Linked DNA regions of Homo sapiens: region 1 is linked to region 2. The links are contacts of gene promoters, found by promoter capture Hi-C in blood cells and fetal thymus (Javierre and others, 2016). All regions are on one chromosome and are shown on one strand. Each heading gives the region's core, a stretch centred on a gene start or on the middle of the fragment in contact. The rest is flanking DNA. Distances are from core to core; before and after follow the strand shown. Region 1 overlaps DTNB (dystrobrevin beta). Region 2 holds the start of POMC (proopiomelanocortin).

Region 1 (5,484 bases), core at 744-3,243, 390 kb after region 2:
GGGTTAATTCCAGCACGACCTTTATATCAGGTTATACTTTTTAAAAATAAGAAATCCAAGACTCTCACCTGGTTTTTATTCCTGTGAGGCTCAGTACATCCCCTCACGCGACCCCAATCCTCAACTCTCAAAACCCTTCTCCTTGTCTTCATAGTCCAGCATCGGCAAAATCCCTCCTCTGTCCGAGGCTTACGCATCAACCTCTTCTCTGAATGTTGCTTTCACCTACGGCTCTAGGAGGAAACCTGGCATTCCCTGAAGGCTCAGCTTCCCTGCAGCCATTTCAAGTGGCAGCTGCTTTCTTTCTCACACCCCTCAAACAACTAGACCTCCAGGTGGAGGAGAAGTCCTCCTAGAACCACACTGCCACTCTCAGATCATTTTCCCTTTTCCTTAAAACTCCGATTTTGAATGTCGTATAATCAGACCAAAACCCAAGTTGTCCCTCCTTCGCGGAGTCCAACATTACTACTGTCATAATTCTTGTTGATTTCAACATTTACAGTTGATCTTTCCAATGCACTGATCGTAGTGGGATGAATGACGGCCCCCCAAAAGATATGTCCACATCCTAATCTCTGGAACCTGCATTACCTTATATGGCAGAAGAGTGAATATTACCTTCTATGACAAAATTAACTTAAGAATCTAGATGGGAGAGGAAGCATTTACCCTGGATTACCTGGTTGGGCCCAAAATGCAATCAAATGTATTTTCATATAAGACAGATACACAGAGGAGAAGAGACAGATGAGAAGAAGGCAATGTAACCCAGGAGGCAGAGACTGAAGTGACACAGCCACAAAGTCAAAGAACGCCAACTGCAGCTAGAAGCTGGAAGAGGGAAAGAACAGTGTGATGTTCAATGTACGTGTCAAGGGGCCGGGCGTGGTGGGTGGCTCACGCCTGTAATCCCAACACTTTGAGAGGCCAAGGCGGGTGGATCACCTGAGGCCAGGAGTTCAAGACCAGCCTGGCCAACACGGCGAAACCCCATGTCTACTAAAAATACAAAAATTAGCTAGGCATGTTGGCGCATGCCTGTAATCCCAGCTACTCGGGAGGCTGAGGCAAGAGAATAGCTTGAACCTGGGAGGTTGCGGTGAGCTGAGATTGTGCCTCTGCACTCCAGCCTGGGTGACAAAGTGAGACTCCGTCTCAAAGAAATAATAAAATAAAATAAATTTTATGTGTCAATTTGACTGGGCTATGAGAAGCTCAGATATTTGGTGAAATGCTCTTCTGGGTGTTCCTTTTAGGGTGTTTTGCATGAGATTAACATTTATATTGGTAGACTGTGTAAAAGAGATGGCCTTCCCTAGTGTGGATGACCCTCACCCAATCATTTGAAGGCCTGAATACAACAAAAAGGCTGACCCAGCCCTGAATAAGAAAAAAGTCCTCTTGTCTTCAAACGTCTGCCTTTGGACCCAAACTGAAAGATCAACTCTTTCTAGGTCTGGAGCCTGCTGGAACTACCCACCATTGGTTCTCCTGGTTCTCAGGCCTTCAGACCAGGATTGGACCTATATCATCAGTTCTCCTGGGTCTCCAACTTGCCAACTCACCCCGCAGATCTTGGGACTTGTCATCCTCCATAACTGCATAAGCCATTTCCTTACAATAAATCTCACAGACATGCGCGTGCCCACCCTATTGAGTCTGTTTCTCTAGAGAATCCTAATACAAAGAGATACTTTCCTAGAGCTTGCAGAGAGAGTGTGGCTCTGCTGACACTTCGATTTCAAACTTGTGTCCAGCACTGTGAGAGGGTTTAGGACCCCAGGTTGGTGGTAGTTTGTTATGGCCTCCACAGGAAGCTAATATATCTGTTAATACATATGTCCTCTCTGAATTCTTCTTCAGCAACTGTTCTCCCACCCTATGTTGGCTGCCATTTCTAGTCACCTCCTACCTACAACATTTTATTGCCAGTTACTGTACATTACCTGAAATCTCAGTTTCAAGCACCTACTCTCACCAACTTCTGTCTTTCTAGCACATTCCTTCTAGTAGTCTGCCTAGAAAAATACTTCAACCCACTGAACCTATACTACATTGAGCCTACCATCTTTATCTTGTCTCCCTCACGGCCTAATTTCTCTCTTGAACCAAGCTCCATGTCTACATTTGATATTATATTTTCTTTGCACACACTCAACACCCCCCTCCTTGCCACTTCTCTTCCTTCGTCATACTTTTCTATCAAAACCCAACCCTATCCACTCTCTGCCTTCACCCACACAATGTGTGGTGGGAGTGAAATACACAGCTATGCTGACTGGTCTGAAGCTGAATTCACAACTACCAACCTCAAGTTAGTCATTCCAATGTCAGTTTAAATGTCACTACCTCAGAAAGGCTTTCCCTAGCCATCCAATTTAAAATACAAAATAATAGCTTTATTGAGTGATATGGTTTGGATGTGGGTCCCCTCCAAATCTCATGTTGAAATGTGATTCCCAGTGTTAGAGGTGGGGCGTGGTGGGAGGTGACTGCATTATGGGGGCGGATCCCTCAAGAATGGTTTAGTGCCATTCCCTTGGTGATGAGTGAGTTCTCAGTCCACAGGAGAGCTGGCTGTTTAAAGGAGCTGGCTCCTCCTCCTCTCCCCCTCTTGCCCCTGCTCTCGTCCTGTGATCTGCCTGCTTCTGCTATGCCTTCCACCATGATTGTAAACTTCCTGAGGCCCTCACCAGATGCTGAGCAGACATTGGTGCCATGCTTGCACAGCCTGCAGAACCATGAACCAATTAAATTTGTTTTCTTTATAAATTACCCAGTCTCAGGTATTCCTTTATAGTAATGCAAAAAAAGAATACATTGAGATACTATTCATATGCCATAAAATTCACCCACTGTAAAATTCAGTGGTTTTTAATATATTCAAAGAGTTGTACAACCATAACTAATATCTAATTTCAGCACATTTTCATCACTCTAAAAAAGAAACCCAATACTCAGCAGCCACTTCCCATTCCTCCCTCTCCCCAGCCCCCGGAAACTACTAATGTACATTCTGTTCATTTGCCTATTCTGTATATTTCATTCTGTCTCTATGCATTTGCCCATTCTGTACATATCACATAAATGGAGTAACACAATATGTGACATTTTGTGTCTGACTTTTTCACTTAGCATGTTTTCAATGTTCACCTATGTTTTAGTGTGTATCAGTACCTCATTTCTTTTGCTTACCTAATAGTACTCCATTGTATTGATAAACTACACTTTGTCCAGTCACCAGTTGATGGACATTTGGGTTATTTCCACTTTTTAGCTCTTTGGAATAATGTTGCCATGACCATTCACATACAAGTTTTTGTGGAGACATGTATTTTCAGTTCTCAAGGGTGTATACCTAGGAGCAGATTGTTGGATCACATGGTGAGTCTATGTTTAACATTCTAAGAAACTGTTAAACTGTTTTCCAATGTGGCTATACCATTTTATATTCCCACCAACGAAGTATAAGGGTTCTGATTTTTCTACATCCTTGTCAACACTGTTATGGTCAGTCTTTTTTATTTAGCTGTCCTACTGGGTACGAAATAGCACCTCACTGTGTTTTTGATTTGTGTTTCCCTCATGATTATGTTAAACATCTTTTCATGTGCATCTCAACCATTGGTATATCTTCTTTGGAGAAACACCCATTCAGATCCTTTCCCCATTTTTTCCCCCAATTTACTTTTTTTTCTTTTTTTTGAGATGGAGTCTCACTCTGTCACCCACGCTGCAGTGCAGTGGCACAATCTCAGCTCACTGCAACCTCCACCTCCCAGGCTCAAGTGATCCTCCTGCGGCCTCCAGAGTAGCTGGGATTACAGGCACCCACCACCACACCTGGCTAATTTTTGTATTTTGTGTAGAGATGGGGTTTCACTGTGTTGGGCAGGCTGGTCTCAAACTCCTGGAGTCAAGCAATCCATCTGCCTCAGCCTCCCGAAGTGCTGGGATTACAGGCATGAGCCACCATGCCCAGCCTAATCTACATATTTCACTGGTAAAATCACACAACATAAAATTTACCACCTTAACCATTTTTAAGTGTATAGTACAGTAGTAGTGTTAAGTATGTTCACGTTGCCATAACTTTTTCATCGTGCAAATCTGAAACTCTATACTGATGAAACAATAATTTCCCATTTTCTCCTCCCAACTGATAACGACCATTCTATTTTGCCCTTTACCCATTTTAAAACTGGGTTAGTTGGGGTGTTGTTTTTGTTGTTGCTGAGTTTTAAGAGTTCTTTATAATTCTGGATACAAGTCCCTTATCAGATACATGATTTGTAAATATTTTCTACTCAGTGGGTTATCTTTTTACTTTCTTGATGGCACCCTTTGAAGCACCAAAATCTTTAATTTTGTTGAAGTCCAATTTGTCTATTTTTCTTTTGTTGCTTGAGCTTTTGGTAGTATATTTAAGAAGGCACTAACTCAAGGTCATAAAGACTTACATCTAATCTCTTTTTCTAAGAGTTTTATAGTTGTAGCTCTTACATTAAGGGGTCTATAATCCATTTTGAATTCGTGTTTCATATGGTATAAGGCAGGGATCCAAATTCATTCTTTTGCCTGTGAATATCCAGTTGTTGTCTCAGCACCATATTTTGAAAAGACTATTCTTTCCTCCATTGGATGGTCATCACCCTCATTGAAAAATCGACAACAACAAATACAAGGGTTTATTTCTGGAGTCTCAATTCTATCTTCATGCCAGTATCACCGTCTTGATTACTATTGCTTTGAAGTAAGTCTTAAAATCAGGAAGTGTGAGTCTTCCAAATTTGCTATTCTTTTTTTTTCTTTTTTCTTTTTTTGAGACGGAGTCTCACTCTGTCGCCCAGGCTGCAGGCTGGAGTGCAGTGGTGCGTGCGATCTCAGCTTACTGCAAGCTCCGCCTCCCAGGTTCACGCCATTCTCCTACCTCAGCCTCCTGAGTAGCTGGGACTACAGGCACCTGCTACCACGCCCGGCTAATTTTTTGTATTTTTAGTAGAGATGGGGTTTCACCGTGTTAGCCAGGATGGTCTCGATCTCCTGACCTTGTGATCCACCTGCCTCAGCCTCCAAATTTGCTTCTCTTTTTGAAGACTGCTTTGACCATTTTGGATCTCTTGTATTTCTATATGAATTTTAGGATCAGTTTATGGGGTTATGCAGAAAAGCAGTTGAGATTTTCATAGAGACTGCACTGAATCTGTAGATGAATTGGGGAGTACTGTCATTTTAAATGTTAAGTCTTCTAACCCATGAACACAGCATGTCTATTTCCTTAGGTCTTAATTTCTTCTTTTTGTTATTTTTTTTGAGATGGAGTCTCTCTCTGTCACCCACGATGGAGCACAGTGGTGCGATCTTGGCTAACTGCAACCTCCACCTTCCAGGTTCAAGCAGTTCTCCTGCCTCAGCCTCCCAAGTAGCTGGGACTACAGGCACGCGCCACCACACCTGGCTAATTTTTTTTTTTTGTATTTT
Region 2 (5,170 bases), core at 2,235-4,734:
GAGAGATGGGAAAATTGAAGCCCAAAGAGAGACAATTACTTTAATGTCCATGACAAGGTAAGGCTAAGCTCCTAACAGAGAACTTTCCTATTTCACTACATTAAGCTGTAGTTCTAACATGCAAGATCTCAGGAGTGAAAGTAACTTGGGAAAAACGGAGGACCCTGAAACTCCTGCTCAAGATGGTCTTTTCCCTTTTTATTCCACCAGGATCCTATCATTCCTCTGAAACTCTATTTCCTATGAATATTAGGTTGACAGAAAAGCAAATAAAACCACTGGCCAATTTAGGCAGCATTTCGAGCAGCCTGATTTGATGTCCTGCACACAAATTACTCTGGTGATCACTATTACCCAGACTCCAGTAACTTTGGAGAGCTTCGTTTTTAAAGCAGATCTCAGTTCTTTGAAATCTGGCTCATCTTCTGGACACGTCACGTGTCAGATGTCTTGTTCTCTAGAGCTCTCAAATGTGGTCTGAAATGGCAGGATTTGAAGAGGATGCAGATGTGGAGGGGAAAGAGACCAGAAGGGAATTACCTCCTGGTGGAACAGCCACTGCAGATACTTTTGGAGAATCCAGCAAGTGCCTGTGGGCAGAAGCTGAGGTCAAGACACCAGGGGACAGTAAGGAGGGGGCATCCATGGTGCCCCTAGCCCCCTGTACCCACCCCTCTCTCCAGCACTACCCTCGCACTGCCAAATTTCCCTTAACCAGGTGGGCCCCCTGAAGCCACCTCGAGGCCGGAGATCAGCTCACCGCCAACCCTACAATCATTTTGGATTTCAGAAGATCTTCTCAGCCAGCTGCTAGAAAGAAATGTAATTAGATGAGAAAAGTAATTCACATTAAAGCGTGGATGACTAAGTGTCTTGTCACTCCTAATGAACGCTGGCATTTTAAAATAAGTTTGCCTAAAATAAATCTCTCATTTGGGGAGGCGTGGGCCAAATCTTTTTTATATAGGGGAGGCTTTGGAAGTGAAAGTCCTCTGAAGCGCTGATTTCTACTTCAGGAGGCCACTTCCTTCTCTCTACCCCACCCTCGCCCTATTCCCCAGGCGCTGGGCCTGCACGGTGCTAGCTTCTGAAGGGTTGCCGGGCAAGGCTGAGCATTTTCAGAGCAGCCATTAGATGGCACTGGCAGCCAGTGACTGGCCCAGGTGCGCTTCGGCTAAAGGGGCAACTGAACGAGCTTTGGTCAACCTTGGTGTCCTCTCCTGGCTCCAAGGGACAGGCTGTTCCCATTGTACCCTGCCAGTGATCTATTCAAGTACACAGCCAGAACTTGGTGGACCAGGCAATTAGATTAAAGCTCCAAGTTGACCATAGCACATTTAGCTCTGAAAAATGCCCAGATGTTACAGTCACAGAAAAATGGTAGTTACGTATGTCACCAAATGCAAATGTAAAGTAACATATTAGTAAAGGAAAAAACAAAATCTTACAGGTCTGATAGTTCCCTCAATTATATTTCAATTCTTGTCAAAGATAACTACTCTGGAGTGATTTCCATTTGCTAGAAGCAATGACTTCAGGCCTTCCTGGAAAGCCCCAGAGAGCATTTCCCCTCCTTATGCCCTATGTGCTGTGTTGTACAATGTGGTAACATATTCACTCCCACCCTCTCAGAGCTTATATTCTGTTGCTAAACTGGTTAGATGGCTGCTATTGCTAAAACTTCAGATTCTTCCCTGAAAGATGGTCTTGTGTTTGTATTGTATATTTTGCTTATGTGTATGTGTATTTGCTTATGTGTATTTTCAGTTCTCTACAATGAACAAATAGTACCTTTTGTGTCATTTTTAAAGCAACAAATTATTGGGGAAATATCAAATGTTGTGCTTTTTTAAGTAGGGAAAGTATTATAATCCAAAAATGGAAAGCTCTGGAAAAATAGAAACTTGAAATTTGCTCATCCTGAGATTAACTTTATAGTAGAACTACACTTATTAGAACTTCATAGGTGTGAGGGGCTCTCTATGAGCTCAACAAATCATTTTGCTTGTTACTGTAAAACTGCACGCTGGCCATGACCTTTTGTAAAGATTAGAGGAGCACAGGGGCCGAGTTTTGTCCTTACACCATGACATACATGCATCGAGTCCTATAACAAAAGCATCAAAGGAACAGTAAGTCATTAAAGTGGCCATAATCTGTGCAGAGTTTATAAACTGACACACACACAAAAAAAATCCACACACACTTTTATTTTCCTTGGCTCCTTCCAGCCATTCTGTAAGAACCCTCCCTGCCCCATTTAAACATGAAGAATTTGGGGAATCCAAATGCCAAGTGGACTGTCTCTCCTTCGCTGGAAACGCCCCTTACCTGAGCCTTGATCATTCCAAATGGCTGCCCGTGCCCTCAACCCAGGATCTGCGCCATAAACCGTCCACCCCGGTTCTGTTGAGGGCATCCGAAACTAGACAGTGCGTTTCAGGATCTAGGACAGCTCCCGCCCCGGCCACCTGTTTTTAACCCCAGCTAGGTCTTGGAGAGAAGAGACCCAACTATTCTGCATTGTAATTGACCCAGTTATCATGTAATTATCATAGCGCGGCCACCTCGGGTGCGCTAAGGTGGGCAAGGAAACAAGGATTCAGGGGTCTGAATCCGAAAAAATCCGGAAGGCAGGGCGTTCATTATGACTTTTATCCTTTTCTCTGCTGCCCCGTTTCCAACATTAATTTGCGATAGCGTGTATGGAATTTGACTTTCAAGATGTGACACCTATCCTGGAAACTGGGAGCAAGAGATACTAAAAGACCGGGCTGGCCGGGGGCGGTGGCTCGCGCCTGTAATGCCAGAACTTTGGGGGGCCAAGGCGGGCGGATCACCTGTTGTCGGGAGTTTGAGACCAGCCTGACCAACATGGAGAAACTCCGTCTCTACTAAAAATACAAAAATTAGCCGGGCGTGGTGGCGCATGCCTGTAATCCCAGCTACTCGGGAGGCTGAAGCAGGAGAATCGCTTGAACCCGGGAGGCGAAGGTTGCGGTGAGCAGAGATCACCCCTTTGCTCTCCAGCATGGGCAACAAGAGCGAAACTCCGTCTCAAAAAAAAAAAAAAAGACCGGGTTGTCCCAAGACCTCCTAGCAAGCTCTCGGAGCCTCCGGACCGCCGCGAGCCCCTGGGGGAGAGGAGGCCGCCGGCTCCCTGGAGACAGCGCCTGCAGCTTCGCGGCCGTCCGCCCAGGGGCCGGACGTGGGCCCTCCAGCTCAGCTACTGGCGGCTTCTCATGCCGCAGTCGGCGCAGAAAGTTTGTCGAGAACTCGGGACCGCGGAGAGCCAGAGGCGCCCAGGTCCGCCTTCGGAGCCGGAGCCGGCCGACTGCATCGCGAGGACGGGGACAGGGGATCCCGGGGAAAGAGCACGGGTCCCCCACGCTGCGCCCTTACCTGTCTCGGGAGGCTGCTCTCTGAGGGCGGGGACGCTCGGCGGCCTCTCTCGGTCGCGGCTCTTCTTCCCCTCCTTCGCCGCCGCTTGGTCCCGCGCTCCTCTGTCCTTATATACTTGCCGAGCTCTCCTGGTGGGCGCGGGACTTTGACCTTCCCGGCAGCACAAGGAGCAGCTCCCCGGGCCAGGGGAAGGGGGGCCGCGGGGCGTGGGAGGGGGGCTTCCAGACGGGGGACGAGCGCGGGGAGACGCGCTGGAAAGGGGCTGGAATTAGCACTGTCCTGCCGAAGGCGCACCTGGCCGCTCGCCCTCAGGAAGAACTTAATTATGGATGGCGTTGGGTCTCCGCTTAGAACGGGCGGGAGGCTTAGCACCCCCGTGTGGGGCAGGCCGGGCAGCCTCTGAGGTCGTTGAGGCGAGGGTGAAGTTACCTGCGTGCGTGCTGGGGCTGGCATCTGCCTGGTTCGCATTTGGCGGTAAATATCACCGTCTGCACACGGGGAGGCCTCCGATTTCCCCATTGTTTGGAAACTGTGATGTGGAAGTCGTGGGGAATCATATTCTCTCTGTTCCACTTTGGGGAGGGGAGGAGGGAGCAGAAGTCAGGAGCCGTCTTGTGGGTGTGAAGGTGAGTTGCACTGCTCCCCTGGGGCCTGCTCTCCAAGGGCCTGGTTTAGGGGAGGCTCCCTTCCGTGTCCCAAGCCTCAAGGAAAAAGTCCTGTTAACCTAAACCATTAAATGGGGAGAGGGTGATGCTGTGAAGAGCAGCTGAAGTGCTTTCCCTGTGGCCTCTGATCCCTCCCTTTGCCATGAGCTGGCAGGGTGGTCTGGGGACTCAGACAATTTTCAACATCCCCCTTGGCCCTGGAGTTCTGGCTTGGCTTTAGTTCCAAATATCAGACCAGAGAGAAGAGTACAGCACTCAAACCAAGCTAAGAGACTCTACCTTAACCTGGAGTAAATAAACAAAACCAAATTGTGCGATGTGGTGGGTGTGGGAGGGAGTATTGGGACTAAACTGGACTTCAAATCAAGACACTTGCTTAATCTGCCAAATGCCAGAACTTTCCTGATTCCCCATGAGATGCTCTTTTGGACTCCAGGACTCTCTTGTGGATTCAGCTTTTCTGGTGACATTGGCTTTACATTCAGCAATCCTTTCCCTTTGGACCACAAGAGAGATCCAAGCTCCGTCACAGTAGACAAGGTGCTTCATCACCCGGCTTTGGCCCCTTTCCAGGGCCATTTCCCAGTTCTCCACCTTGCATCCTGGCACTTCAGCATCCACAACATTCACACTGCTAGAACATGGCTTTCTTGGGTCTCCATTGTCCAAGCTGTTCCCCCAACTAGAACATCCTTCCTCTCTCCAGCCATCCAGGAGCTTGACTCACATCAAGATGTAGCCCATCCATCAGCCCCTGTTCTCTGAAGCCCTCTTTGGCCACTTTTCCTACCAGGGGCATGAGGCATGACCTCCTCTGCCTTCCACAGAAGTCCATCCCCATCTTGTCAGTGCAAGTGGCTTGCACTAATTCACTTCTGTCCCCATTTTTTTAATCTTCCATCCACCCCACGACCACCATCAGGTTTGTAAACTCTTTCAAGCAGATGGTGGTTTTGCCTTATTTTACTTTGTGTTATTTTTGTAACTTCAGGAGGCTGCTGGTGGCAGCAGATAAAACAAACCAGGAAAAATCCAAATGGACCCAACTTCTTTAACTGGGTTCCTTCTTTCTTTTCTTCTCTCTCTCTCTCATTCTGTTTGTT

Evidence for each region. The method cuts DNA at HindIII sites, captures the fragments that hold promoters and counts their contacts. A CHiCAGO score of 5 or more calls a contact.
Region 1: a fragment that was not itself captured here is called in contact with the fragment with the promoter of POMC in region 2 in 1 of 17 cell types (total B cells); the score reaches 5.3 in total B cells.

What each region holds. Positions count from the first base shown.
Region 1 is chr2:25,559,083-25,564,566 of GRCh38, forward strand. The region is part of intron 8 of DTNB (dystrobrevin beta); the gene reads right to left. Among named protein-coding and RNA genes, the nearest start is that of DTNB, 110 kb to the right of the region's middle. RefSeq lists enhancers at 4,522-4,666, 5,394-5,484 and cis regulatory regions at 4,593-4,594, 5,466-5,477. The HindIII fragment of the contact is 8,244 bases long and covers 1-5,484 here.
Region 2 is chr2:25,165,096-25,170,265 of GRCh38, forward strand. POMC (proopiomelanocortin) reads right to left here and starts at 3,485. Exons shown (of 3, transcript NM_000939.4): 1 at 3,403-3,485. RefSeq lists a promoter at 3,359-4,171, cis regulatory regions at 3,510-3,522, 3,588-3,761, 3,762-3,787 and an enhancer at 3,582-3,601. The HindIII fragment of the contact is 11,223 bases long and covers 1-5,170 here.